Regions from separate parts of the Homo sapiens genome. Here region 1 is linked to region 2. The links are contacts of gene promoters, found by promoter capture Hi-C in blood cells and fetal thymus (Javierre and others, 2016). All regions are on one chromosome and are shown on one strand. Each heading gives the region's core, a stretch centred on a gene start or on the middle of the fragment in contact. The rest is flanking DNA. Distances are from core to core; before and after follow the strand shown.

Region 1 (6,912 bases), core at 3,659-6,158, 610 kb after region 2:
CTTCCCTTTAAGTAGTAATGAGGTTTAAAAAAATTTTTTTTTAATTTTGCAATTATCTCAGACTTGCAAAAAGTTACAAAAATAGTACAAAGAATTCCTGTTTACTCTTTCCCCAGATTCATCAAATGTTAATACTTTACCACACTTGTTTTATTATTCATTCATATTCTCTCTCACATATATCTCTGTGTGAACTGGTTTTTGAAATGTTTGAGCATAAGTTGCAGACATGATACCCCTTTGCATCTGAATACTTCCTAAAAACTTCCTAAATGTTTGCTAAAACCAGGATATTCTCTTATATTCAAAAAATTAGCATTGATAATACTATAAACTATATTACTATTATCTAATACACAGATCTTATCCAAATATTGCCAACTGTCCCATCAATGTCCTTTATCTGGCCCAGGATCACAAGTTGTATTCACCTTCATATCTTTTTAGTCTCCTTTAATCTGTAATAGTTCCTCAGCCTTTATTTTTCTTTAATGAGCTTGACACTTCTGAAGAATACAGACCAGTTATTCTAAAGAATGAAACTCAATTTGGCCTTGTCTGAAGTGATGATATATCCTTAGTTGCATCTTATGATGAGGCCCATGTCAATTTGTACTATTACTAATGATGATATTATGTGCTTCATGATATGATGCACTTAAGGATATATCATCACTTCTGCAATTTCCAAACAAAAATGCATCATCTTGAATGTGTATTTGCACCCATTAATCAACCTCTCTCAATGGCCAGTGAATTTGTAAACTCTGGCTCAAGGGGAGTTCAAGGGAAGGCATATTACTCAAGCCTGGCAGATAAAGTTTAATGGAAGCACTTTCTCTAGGACCCATCAACATACAAGCTGGTAGGAGGTCTCCAATACTTAGAGGGAAAATGCTATTTAAATGTGATTCTGTGTAAAACCTCACATCCCAATAAAACACAAGTCCTTGTTGTGCCCTCAACTGAGAAAACAGTTGCTGTCAGCACCCAGCTGAGAAACAGGAACCTAGAGGCTGAGATAAGGATTTTAGGGCTAGAGTCAAAGAAACAAGGAGGGCACTGTGGCAAGCTCAAGGGTTCTATAACCACTGTTATTCAAAAGAAAAGAACATGTTATCTGTTAATCTCCTTGAAAGTAAGGTGGGAATGTCAGATTCTAACCAAGTCATGCTAGGGGAAAGTGAGAGAAGAACAGATCAATCACATTCCCCTCTTGTCCAATTAATCTTTCAGAGTCAGGGCCAAGAAATAAGCTGTAATTGCACAAAGAAGACTTCAATAAAAAATATTCAGGCAGAAGGAGCTTAGTCCCTGGACAGGCCTCCATACAACACAGAAACTCCCGACATGCCTGTCATAATGATGCTTTCACCCTGACCTCAGCAGATCTTCAATTCCACTTAATCCATCAACAAGTCCTTCCAGCTTCAAATATATGTCTTTGAATCTGGCTATTCTTCCCCATTTCCACTGTCATTACCTTAGTCAAGCTACCATCATCTCTCAACTGCTGATTTACTGGCTTCTATATCATCTATTTTCCAGACAGTGGCTACTTTTTCAAAACACAGTACTCTTTTTAAAACACAGCTTAAGATCATCTGATGGCTTCCAGGACTATGTGATCTGATTCCTGACTCTCTGACCTTATCCAGAGCCACTCTTCCTCTCATGAGGAACGTTCCCACCTCTGGATCTTTGTGGTTTCCTCTGAAACACTCAGATCTTTGAATGGCTGGCTTAGTTCTTTCACTCAGTATTCAACTAAAAAGGCCTTCCTTGTCAATCCTATCTAATATTGTCCTACCCCAATCATTCCCTATTTCATTACCTTGTTTTATTCCCTCCATTTCATTCCTCCACTATCTAAAATTATTATATATTTATATTTCCTTACACTTGGCTCAAAAAAAAAAAAGATGAACAAAGAAGCTGGTAATTTTTTTAAAAACTACCAATGAGGTTGGAAACAGACAAAGATGACTTATCTGTGTATACCTTTTCCTACAATTTTAATTTCTTTTTGTTTGTTTGAGACCAGGTCACTTGGTCACCAAGGTTTGACCTCCTGGGCTCATGGTCCTCCTATCTCACCCTCCCAAGGAGCTGGAACTACTGGTGTGTTCCACCGCACCCAGCTAACTTTTTTATTTTTTGTAGAGATAAGGTCTTGCTATCTTGCCAGGGCTAGTCTCAAACTCCTGGGCTCAAGCGATTCTCCCACCTCAGCTTCCCAAAGTGCTGGGACTGCAGACATGAACCCCTACACCTGGCCCTAATTTTAACTTCTGAGTTTTTTAATTTTTTTTTTTAAATAGAGACAGAGTCTCACTATGTTGCCCCAGTTGGTCTCGAATTCCTGCCCTCAAGTGATCCTCTTGCCTCAGCCTCTCAAAAGTGCTGAGATTACAGGTATGAGCCACTGGGCCTGGCTATTTTAAAATAAAAACCTCAATTATTTATGCATTTCTTTGCTATCTGTCTATCTTCCAGAATGAAAGCTTTGAGCACAGGGACTTTTTCACAGAGCTTATGTATCCAGCCCTAGAATGGTAATCAGGGCTCATTAAATATTTGCTGAATAAACAAATGCATCTACAACAGCTATGACCAGCTAAGGGGGAAAAAACTTTTTTCACTCCCTTACATAGTCACTCTTAACACAGTACAGAATATTTCACCTCTGGTCATCAAAATGTGTGAGGCACACACACCAAGGAATGCTCCAGAGGCCACCAGCTGGATATCCTATAATTCAATTCTGACACTATTTACCTAAAGATAGCATCAGATCTCACAGGTTAAGGGCTCAGTACCACAAGGCTGCTTCCACTTCAGATTCCAATTGCAAGGCACAGGTTGTGACCTGTGCTTCTGATTGATTTGCTATAAATTGGTGTTCCCTGGCCAGGCGCGGTGACGCACACCTGTAATCCCAACACCTTGGGTGGGGCGAATCGCTTGAGCCCAGGAGTTCAAAATTAGCCTGGGCCACATGGCAGAACCCCACCTCTTAATTAATTAATTAATTAATTAATTGGGGGTAAATTGAGGTTCCCAAAACCCCCCCATGGGGTTTGATCAATTTGTTAGAACAACTCACAGAACTCAGGGAAACACTTCACTTACATTTACCTATTTATTACAAAGGATACAGATGAACAGCCACATGGAAGAGATACATGATGCATAGGGCAAGGGATGGGGAAAAGGGCTTGGAGCTTCCGTGCTGTTACCGGGAGTGCCAGGTACATTCATGTGCTCAACAATCCAAACCCTGTCCTTTTGGGTTTTTATGCAGGTTTCATTAATAGGCATGACTGAATAAATCACTGGCCATTGGTAGTCAGCTCAATCTTTGGCTCCACTCCCCTTCCCAGAAGGTGGGGGATGGAACTGAAAGTTCCAACCCTCTAATCACATGGTTGGTTCTCTCGGCAATCAGCCTCCCATCTTGAGGCTATTCAGGAGTCCCCAGCTATCAATCATCTCATTAGCATATAAAAAGACACTTATCACTTACAAGTTCTGAAGGTTTTAGGAGCCAGGAACCAGGGGCACACCCCAATTATGTATTTCTTTCTTTTTTTTTTTTTTTTTGAGACCGGAGTCTCACTGTGTTGCCCAGGCTGGAGTGCAATGGTACGATCTCGGCTCGCTGCAACCTCTGCCTCCCGCGTTCATGCAATTCTCCCGCCTCAGCCTCCCGAATAGCCGGGATTACAGGCACCCGCCATCGTGCCCGGATAATTTTTGTATTTTTGTAGAGACAGGGTTTCACCATGCTGACCAGGCTGGAGTATTTCTTATTATATCACAATATCACATCAGCAAAGCCACGAGTTGGACCTATTCATATGAAAAAGGCGTTCCCCTCTTACCACCATCTCCTTGTTGCTATTTTTTACTCAGTGCGTGCACTCTGCCACAGCTGTACCCAACCCCTTCAATAGTGTCTTTCCTCCTCCTGAGGCCAATCCAAAATCCTCCAGTTCTTTCATCCTCCCCCACATCAAATCAATCTCTCTCACAATGTCAACTATTATCTGCAGAAGAGTCATTTTGCAGATTTGTCGTCTCAAGTTTCATGTCTGCATCACCAACTGCCTGTTCCACCTTTCCAAATGCATGTCCAACCACTTCAATCTAGTGTGTCAAACTAGCTCTCCACTCCTGATCGTCCCATTTCCTTGAGTGGACCCTTCTTTCTCCAAATCACCTAAGAGGAAAACTAAGTTATTTCTGACTTTTTCCTTTACTTTATTTCCCCAAAGGGAAACCAGTCATGAAATTTAAGACACTCTGTCTACTTAGCATTCTTCCTCCTTTTATTATTTCCACCATGCCCCTAGATCTGGACTTACTGCAACAGCACTGACTGAAGCATGTGTCTCCAAGGTGTGCCCTTCCTAATTCCACCCTGCAGGCAACCTCCAGATTAATTTTGCTGTATTGCTTCATCAGGTCAATCCCTTTTCAAAAACGGTCCATGAGCACTTACTAAACACTGTGGTGGCCCACCTGCATCAGAATAACCTGAGATGCAAAGTCCTGAGATTCACCTTCAAGAGGATTCAGTTGGTGTGGAGTAGGGCCATGAGTCTGCAGTTTTAACAAGCATTCCAGATGACTGTCATGTGAGATTTCTTAGCTTTGGTCCACAAGACTCCATAGTCGACCCTTAATCTTTTTTTTTTTTTTTTTAAGGCTTATTTCCATTTCCTCCTACCTTGAACTCTGTTATGTGAACTGCGCTGGTCTTACACTAAATTCCTGGAATAAACCTTTCAAATGCCTGTCTGCAGGGCTTTACTCCACTAAGCTTCTTCCTTGTGAATCCTTACCATATTTTATTTACCTTTTCCAGACCCAGCTCAAGACCCACCCTCTCCACGAGCACCTGTTGTGTGTCCCTCTCACGTGATACTTTCCCAAGGCTATCTCACACCACTGTTCACTTACCCTAGTGATATGCCCTATAAGCTTCATGATGGCTTTTATAGGAAATCTCTGGGGATCTTTAACCTCAAATACAGAGCCACGCTGGCAGAAGGGGGTGGGAAGAACCCTGGTCCAGTTTGGCCTCCTATTAGCAATATTGCCCAAGTCTCCTCCCCCAACAACTTTATGGAACACTAAGTCTTCCTAGAACAAAAGTTTTTAAAAAATTGACTTAGAAACGATGGATATGTTCAATGTGAATTATACCTCCACAAAACTGTTAAAAATAAAAATAAAACTTGAATAAAGGGGTAAGAGTGAAGAATAAAAAACTGCAGAAAGTTGTATGGATCAACAAAATGGCCTGAAACATCCCCTTCTATTTGCATGGCTGCCTCAGCCCAGTCTCCAACCCCTCTAACACCAAGTGCAGGACTGTTAAGGTAAGCAGCCTGACTGATGTCCCTGGCTCCAGACTCTCCCCTTTAAAACACCCATTCTCAGGAATCTGAACATCCTACTTTGTCATCTTCATGCAGCATTTGGAAACTGCCTATACAGTTCTGTCCTCCAATCTTTATGGGGTGATTTTGCCTCAAGTTTCCTCCTTAAAGGAGTGTGAATGATTAGTAGCCTATGTTAGAAAATCTATTGCTGGCCGGGCGCAGTGGTTCATGCCTGAAATCCCAGTACTTTGGGAGGCCGAGGTGGGCAGATCACCTGAGGTCGAGAGTTCGAAACCAGCCTGAGCAACATGGAGAAACCCCATTTCTACTAAAAATACAAAACTAGCCAGGCATGGTGGTGCATGCCTGTAATCCCAGCTACTTGGGAGGTGGAGGCAGGAGAATCGCTTGAACCTGGGAGGCAGAGGTTGCGGTGAGCCGAGATTGCGCCATTGCACTCCAGCCTGGGCAACAAGAGTGAAACTGCGTCTCAAAAGAAAAAAAAAAAAGAAAAGAAAATCTATTGCTGCTGTCGCAAACCAACAAGTCTCCAGGGACCAGGCCCAGACCAACTTGGACAAGGTATCTATTTCTAGAGAAAGCAATTATTCATTACCCACTAATTAAATCACTCTCCTACAAGAGAGTGTGGCTCTTGGGAAATGCAGTTTCCCTTTCCTCCTTCAACTAGGTGTTTCCCTCGGTCACCAGGGAAACTCAGGACATCAGAAATGGTTCAGTCTACAGTCCACAAGATCTCTGATGAGATTACCTCAACTGCTCAACAGTTATGTTAGAAGATAGAACTGACAGGCTCACGCCTGTAATCCCAACACTTTGGGAGGCTGAGGCAGGTGGATCACGAGGTCAGGAGATCAAAACCATCCTGGTTAACACGGTGAAACCCCATCTCTACTAAAAATACAAAAGGCGTGGTGGCAGACGCCTGCAGTCCCAGCTACTTGGGAGGCTGAGGCAGGAGAATGGCCTGAACCCGGGAGGCGGAGCTTGCAGTGAGCCGAGACTGTGCCACTGCACTCCAGCCTGGGTGACAGAGCAAGACTCTGTCTCCAAAAAAAAAAAAAAGAAGAAGATAGAACTGACTTGCCTGGAACCAAATAGAGAGGAGTGTAGGAATCACATTAATTTTCTCTTATGAGATAAATCCCAAGCTCTCTCTCCCTAAGGAAAGGTGGAGGAGCAATATATCTCTCCTAAAGCCCTACTAAGAGAGGAAGGTCAAGAATACAGCCTAGTGAGAAGGGTGGGTCCGTATAAGTCAAGATTAGTGAAATTACAGGTAGCTCTTGTAGAGCACAGTTTAGCAATGCCAAACAAGTAAGCAAACCTGAGGAAAAGATACAGGTTATGGCAGCTGGAGCTGAGGGAGGTAAACCTATAAATTACTGAAAAGTGAAACCAGTGGAAGGGTTTATGTAATGGGGTGACTCACTCTCCTGAAGCCTTGCCCTTTATCAGCTTCGGGAAGGAGGCTCTTTCCTCCTTCTCAGGTGGGCTCTGG
Region 2 (6,446 bases), core at 2,648-5,147:
TAAAGTATATTTTTGCTGGATATAGAATCCTCAGTTGGCAGCTCATTTCTCTCACAACTTTAAAGATGTTATTTCACTTCCTTCTGGCCCACATGGTTTATAATGAAAAATTCAGTTTTCTGAATCCCATTGTTCTTTAGTCGTGTGTTGTTTAAGATTTTTTTCTTTGTTTCAGTGTTTAGAATTTTTGATTATAATGTGTCAAGAGTATAGACTTCTTTGAGTTTATTCTATTTGGCATTCCTTAAGCTTCTTTAATCTTTAGGCTTATGTCTTTTCACACATTTGGGAATTTTTCAGAAATTATTTCTTCAAAATTTTTGTGTGTACTGCACTTTATCCTCTTAATCTGGAATTCCAATGACATTAATTTTGGACTTTTGATATTGCCCTACAGGTCCCTGAAGTTCTGTTAACTTTTTTTTTCCCAATGTTTTTTCTCTCTCTTGTTCTGATTGGATTATTTCTGTTGACCCATCTTCAAGTTGACTGACTCTTCTGTCATTTCTATCCCGCTTGGAGCTCATCCAGTGAGTTTTTATTTTAGTTATTATATTTTTTCATTTCTCAAATGGCACTTTAGAAAAACAAACAGAACAACCAGTGATAGGAGATGGGATTGGAGAAATAAGTCCAAAATTGCCTAGACAGAGCTCTGTAGGCAACAGTAGAGCGTCCAGATCTTATGCAAAGTACAGAGGAAAAATCACTGGGGATTTTAAGGAAGGGAATAGAATTATGTGATATATAATTTTAAAAGGCTACTTGAGAATATATTGATAGGGGAAAGAGTGGAATCAATAGATCAGTTAGGAAGTGTTGTCTTGGTCCAAGAAAGACTGTGGTGGCCTGGGCGAGGCAATCACAGGAGCCTAGCACCTCTATCTGGCCCTGCACTGCCCCAACAGGCAGCCTGAACCTCAGGGGGCTCTAGATCCTTATGCTTCCAAGGAAACTGCTTCTTGATTCCTGTCACCATGGCAGCTACACTTCTCCTACCTGGATTGGTCGCTGGAGTGGCATCATCAGCACTAAATGACTGATCCTCACAATAAGAACTGGTTGTCATGGTGCTACCAATTATGCAAACAAGAATCTGCCTTTCTTCTGCAGGCTCAGCGTCCTTGACTAGCTCTGTACCTAAGGGAAAATCAGGGAGAGAGAGAAGATCATGACGTCGGAGCCAAGGGGAGGCTAGCTGTCAGGTGGTTGCTGAGTCACTATTCCTCAAGACTTGCCCAAGTCAAGACTGCAACTAGAGGCCCTTATATAGTGGGGTGAGGGGAGCTTACACTGTGGAGGGGGAGCCCCTGGCACATATACACACAAATTCCAAATCCGATTTTCCTCCCATTTTAGAGCTTCTTTGAACTGTTTCCTTCTCTGAGCAAAACTTTGTCACAGATTGAGGCCTTCCTCCTCTCCCAGCCCCATTACCCTGCAGAGAGGCAGTTTTAGGACAACTTGCTACTGGATTTTTTAAAGTGAGTTTTCATGAAAATTCTTTAAGCAGGCTTGTCTGCAAGTAAGACAGTGGGCCTCAGCCAGAGCTTCTGAATTAAAATATGTAAAGCCAGAACAGAGAGGACATTTGGGGTGGGGATTGAAATAGTAAAACTCCTTGGTACACATGGAGCCTAGGCTTCTGATCTCCTTCTCCTTCCGGACATCATTTGTAACATGAATGTAAGACAGAGTAGGACCACAGCTGAATTACAATCTTCCTTCGCCCACTCTCCCCAGCTACACTTTATGGTAGTCTTTCTTTCTTCTTGGGAAAGAAAGTTCCTTCCTACGAACCCCTGGTTCAATAGGCCTGAAAACCTGCTAAGTCTTCTGAGGGTATTACTCTTAGCATTAGAATCCCTTCCAATGAACAGTAAAAAGAAGAGCAGCATCAATGCTCCTGTACATTTATCATTTTGATAGCCATTCTCCTGGTGGTTTAAAATCTTAAAATACAGAGAGGAGCACACTCACCTTTGTTCAGCCGACCCAAAGACCAATATTTCCCTTTTTCCAGGAGCATTATACTTCACAAAGCAGGTTCACGTTCATTTGCTCTTAGGCCTCAAATTATTGCTATAAATTTATTTTAAAATAGCATGTCCAGTACATAATCAGTGACAACCAGATAAACCTCTAGTTTTTGGCGTGACAAGACAGAAACTTGTGTCGGATCCTCCTAACATTGGGTATATACTCTAGGCAAAATATAAAAATAACTGTATGAAAGCATGGAGACTGATCAAGAGTTAGAAACCTACAGGGAGTATAGTCCTCAAAAAAAGGAAGTCCACCAAGTGACTTATACATGTATAGGCTTTTCCTCTGAAGATACTTCAGAGTTCACTGCAGTACACAGGGAAACAGCTCTGTCAGCAACTGGCAGTCTTACTAAGGAAACAGCTTTTGGAGTACAGAGATGCCAGAGCATCTGGAAATTGAGGAAGAAATTTAGAAAATGAATAAATTACAGAGAGAGGAACTCAAAATCTGCATCCTAACTCCCCTCCAATTCTTAGCTATCTTCTAAATGGCACTTGCGCAGGGTGAGATTTCAAGGAACCTAGTGAAAAAGTCAAATATCTGAACAGAGATTTTGGCAGCTGTCACAGTGTTAGGGTGACTGAGTTTGGAGTTCAGGACCCGTAAAATAGAGAGTTTTGGTAAATGACTTTGGGTTATGTTGAAATCCAAAAAGGACCACACCTTAGCCATAAGCACCATATCCCAGGACTAAGAGATACAGGCTAGAATTGAGAATAGGATGAAGTACTCCTTCCCTAACCAGACTGCCACAGGATCAAGACTTTTTACCAAAAATTTAATTGCCTGCCAGAACAAACTCAAACTATTACCCTTTAAAGATAATAATATAATTCAGATCCTTTGTAATGTATCAACCCCAAATGTTCACTATACAAACCCTTAGGTTTAAGTAATCCACTATCTCGACCTCCCAAAGTGCTGAGATTACAAGCATGAGCCACCATGCCCAGTTTAATAAATGTTTTAAGCTTAATGAAAAAAAATTTAAATGCCAGTCTAAGAGTTAGAAAGCTCACAAACTAGCTTGTAAGTACACAAGAGTGAAAGCAAGAGGTCAGTTAGCTAGTTAGTTACTACAACAACTCAATTTAAAAGAGTACAGTGTCCAAGGCCTGGCATGGTGGCTCATGCCAGTAATGCCAACACTTTGGGGGGCCAAGGTGGGAGGATTGCTTGAGCCTAGGAGTTTGAGATCAGCCTGGGAAACATGGCAAAACCCTGTCTCTACAAAAATAAATAAATAAATAAATAAAATTGGCTGGGCATGGTAGTGTGCACCTGTAGTCCCAGCTACTCTGGAGCCTGAGGTTGAGTAGAGGTCGAGCGGAGGTTGTGGTGATCTGAAATTGCAAGACTGTCTCAAAAAAAAAAAAAAAAAAAAGTACAGTGTGCAGTGGTTTGGACCAAGGCGATGGCAGTGGATGTGGAGTAAAGTGGATGGATGTGCCATATATAATATATAATATATAATATTATATATATATATATAGCAGATCGAACCTATATGATTTCTAAAGGGTTTTAAGTGGGCCAGAGTAAAGAGTGTCAAGGATAATAAAATAAACTAAATTCCTTGAGTGCCTACTGTTTCATCGCTGTTCATATTTGATTCTCACAACAAACCTGAGTAGGTACAACTTGCACCCGTATCTTACGTGCCATCCGTTTCTGCAGCCTTAGGACTGGGAGTACAGGCGGTGGTTCTTGGGACCCAGCTAATGCCCGAAAGGAGCCGGGTCAGGAATTCCAAGAGATGAGGGTGGGGAGGCGGTAGGGGAAGGAGCTGGGGAGGCGACCGCAGGGGCAGGGCCCGCTCACGATTGGCTGAACTGCCGAGGAGGGTTAAACAGATTCGGAGTCGCGGGCTGGTGGGAAGCTGCAGCCCCGCTCAGCCCCTCGGCCGTGGCCGCTACCTTCACTGAGACTTGGCCGGGGAGTGAGCGCGCCGAGCCTGGGAGGATACAGCACCCACTGTGGCCTGGGAGCTCCGAGGGGCTCCAGCTGCTTGTCTGCTTCCTGCTGCTGAACAGCTGCCCGGGGGGCTGCAGCGACACTAGTGCCCACGGTCAGGAGGAACCCTGGGGGGTGCGGGCAGGGCCAAGAAAGCGATCCTGAGAAGTGGGGGTCTGCAGGGGGCCTCAAGGCTAGGAAACTTGGAAGTAAAAGAATGTGCTTAAGGACGTGAGAAGAGAAAAAGGTAGACAGCGTCTAGCGGAAAGAGGCATAGGCTTCAGATAGGCTGGGCATATGGGGTCTGGACTCACGAGAAGTGGGTTCAGGTGAAAATTGGGGATTTGGGAAGAGGTCAGAAAGACAAATGAACAGAGAGAGGTAAAACTGGCCTATGTGGCCACAGGAGAAGCAAGAAAGGCCAGAAAAAGAGTTGACCAGGGCTGCGGGTATCGGGGTCTTGGCTCCAGGGAGAAGGCTGGGCCAGGAGACGAGCCAGGGCTTCCTCGTGCTGTGATCCGGTTTCCAATAAGGGGACCGCTGAGGGAAAGCAGGATGGAGGGGGAATGGGACCATCCTTCTCCCCTTCCCCCGCACCAATCCGCGTAGACCCCGCGCTGACTCACGTGCCAGACTGCGCACACTCGAGAACTCCTGCGCAGAGCGCATGGGGAAGAGAGCGCAAACTCCTAGTCTGTCGCCCCCTCTCCCTGATTTTTGGTTTTAGAGGCCAATGCAGCGGATTCAGGAACAGCTGTGGGAGGAGGCCTGGTGGCAATGAGAGGATGAGGGCCGTGGGGAAGGACCGCCAAGCCTTGCGGAGATGTCTCGCCCACATTCCGCCCAGCGCCGCCGCCACGCTGGCCTCCCCACCTCTCAGCACCACGGACAGCGCCAGGCGCGCTCCGGGTCCACGCCGAGCCCGAGCGGGTCACCACTCCTTCCCACCAGTCCTGGGAACGCTGCCTCAGAGAATCAGCTCCCCTTCCCGAAGCTCTTTCCCTTCTCCTCAGGGTGTTGGAGGTTCCACTACTTCCTTAAGGAGGCTTTCTCATCCCCAAATGTCTCTACTTAAAACTTTGTCACGCTTACCCCCAGGAAATTATTAGACATCCATTTGACTGGGTAGGAGAATTCCCTTTTCTAAAGACCTGTCCAGAATGGCTCATGGTAACTACACTATAGCAAAAAACAGACTGTCCTCCAGCCCTATCTCACTGATCTGGAAGAAGGAAGGTGTGCATAGCATTAGGGGTTCTCTTCCCCAACCCCTGTCCTTCCTCTCATGCACAGTTGGGCAAACTGTGGGCTTCAGGAAAAGGATCCAGAGCCTCAAACCCTAAACAAACCAATACCTTTTCTAATGATTCCAGGCCTCCTCCCTAACACTTCCAGGCTTCAATGACTTCCCTAAGATGAAGCTCACCTGTTTCCCCATGCCCCACCTACCCACCTGATTACTATTCCCATGTGCTCAGCTTTCTGAGCCTCTGCGCATCTGAACTTCTACAGGCTGCTCTTTGTAAATCTGGTTATCTGTAAGTTGGTACCAAGAGTGAATGAGGCCCAGGGGTTGAAGAATATGGCAAGTGGTGATGGAGGAAGGGAAAAATTAAAGAAGACTTGAAGTGGACAAAGCGGCCTGGTAGTGGGAACAGAGGTCAGGGGTCCAGGAGTGACAGTACAAGGAAGCTGCTTCTCTTCAACTGGGATGTGGAAGGCTCTGGCCAGGTTCCTTGCTGACACCACTATTTTGCCCTTAGATGGTCAGGACCAAGTAGGAGTGGGGCAGCTTTGGCCCCTCCAAGGATTTGCCACCCCAGTCTTCCAGCATTTACAGGTTGTGCTCCAGCAGATTATACCCCAAGGTAAGTAAAAGCTGGAGAACAGAGGTTGGGGCCTGGTTAGAGATGGGGAGGGGGGAAGAGGGGCTATCCGACCTGAGGGTAGGCTTTCTGTTCCCCAAATGTCTCTACTTAAAACTTTGTCACATTTACCCCCATGGGGATGAGACAGGAGTAGGAGTGGGATCTGGATGGGTGGACTATTTGCACTAGAACACCTTGGAAGAGCCCAGTAAAGGCTTCTAGGGAAAAAAAAAAACAAAACTGAAAACGGCCAGCATCCAACTCCTTGAGACTAGTCTCCCCCCAACCCCAGCACTATATGAGCTTTTCCAAAGCCAGGACTCTTCAAGTTCTCAGACAGGAAAACACACACTTCAGCCTCTGAGTAGGAAATTGTATGACAAACAGATGGGAGGAATGAAAGGGAGTGGAGAGTCCATTGGCAACATGTGGCTGACCCTGTCTCACAGCAGAGTTTCATGAATGTTGGGGAGGAGACAGTCAGCTAGGAAATCTTCCTTGAGTTCATATTACTGCTGCTAACACTAATATGTGCATAGTGCCTTAGAGCAGTAGTTCTCAAAGTGCACCCCTGGA

What was found. The method cuts DNA at HindIII sites, captures the fragments that hold promoters and counts their contacts. A CHiCAGO score of 5 or more calls a contact.
Region 1: a contact is called between a fragment that was not itself captured here and the fragment with the promoter of RESP18 in region 2, in 1 of 17 cell types (total B cells). The highest score is 5.5, in total B cells.

What each region holds. Positions count from the first base shown.
Region 1 is chr2:218,717,366-218,724,277 of GRCh38, reverse strand. The region is part of intron 1 of TTLL4 (tubulin tyrosine ligase like 4); the gene reads right to left. Among named protein-coding and RNA genes, the nearest start is that of TTLL4, 10 kb to the right of the region's middle. RefSeq lists a silencer at 4,415-4,712. The HindIII fragment of the contact is 161 bases long and covers 4,828-4,988 here.
Region 2 is chr2:219,330,195-219,336,640 of GRCh38, reverse strand. RESP18 (regulated endocrine specific protein 18) reads left to right here and starts at 3,897. Exons shown (of 6, transcript NM_001441699.1): 1 at 3,897-4,117; 2 at 5,766-5,870. The coding sequence starts at 4,012. RefSeq lists an enhancer at 719-1,918. The HindIII fragment of the contact is 5,862 bases long and covers 3,023-6,446 here.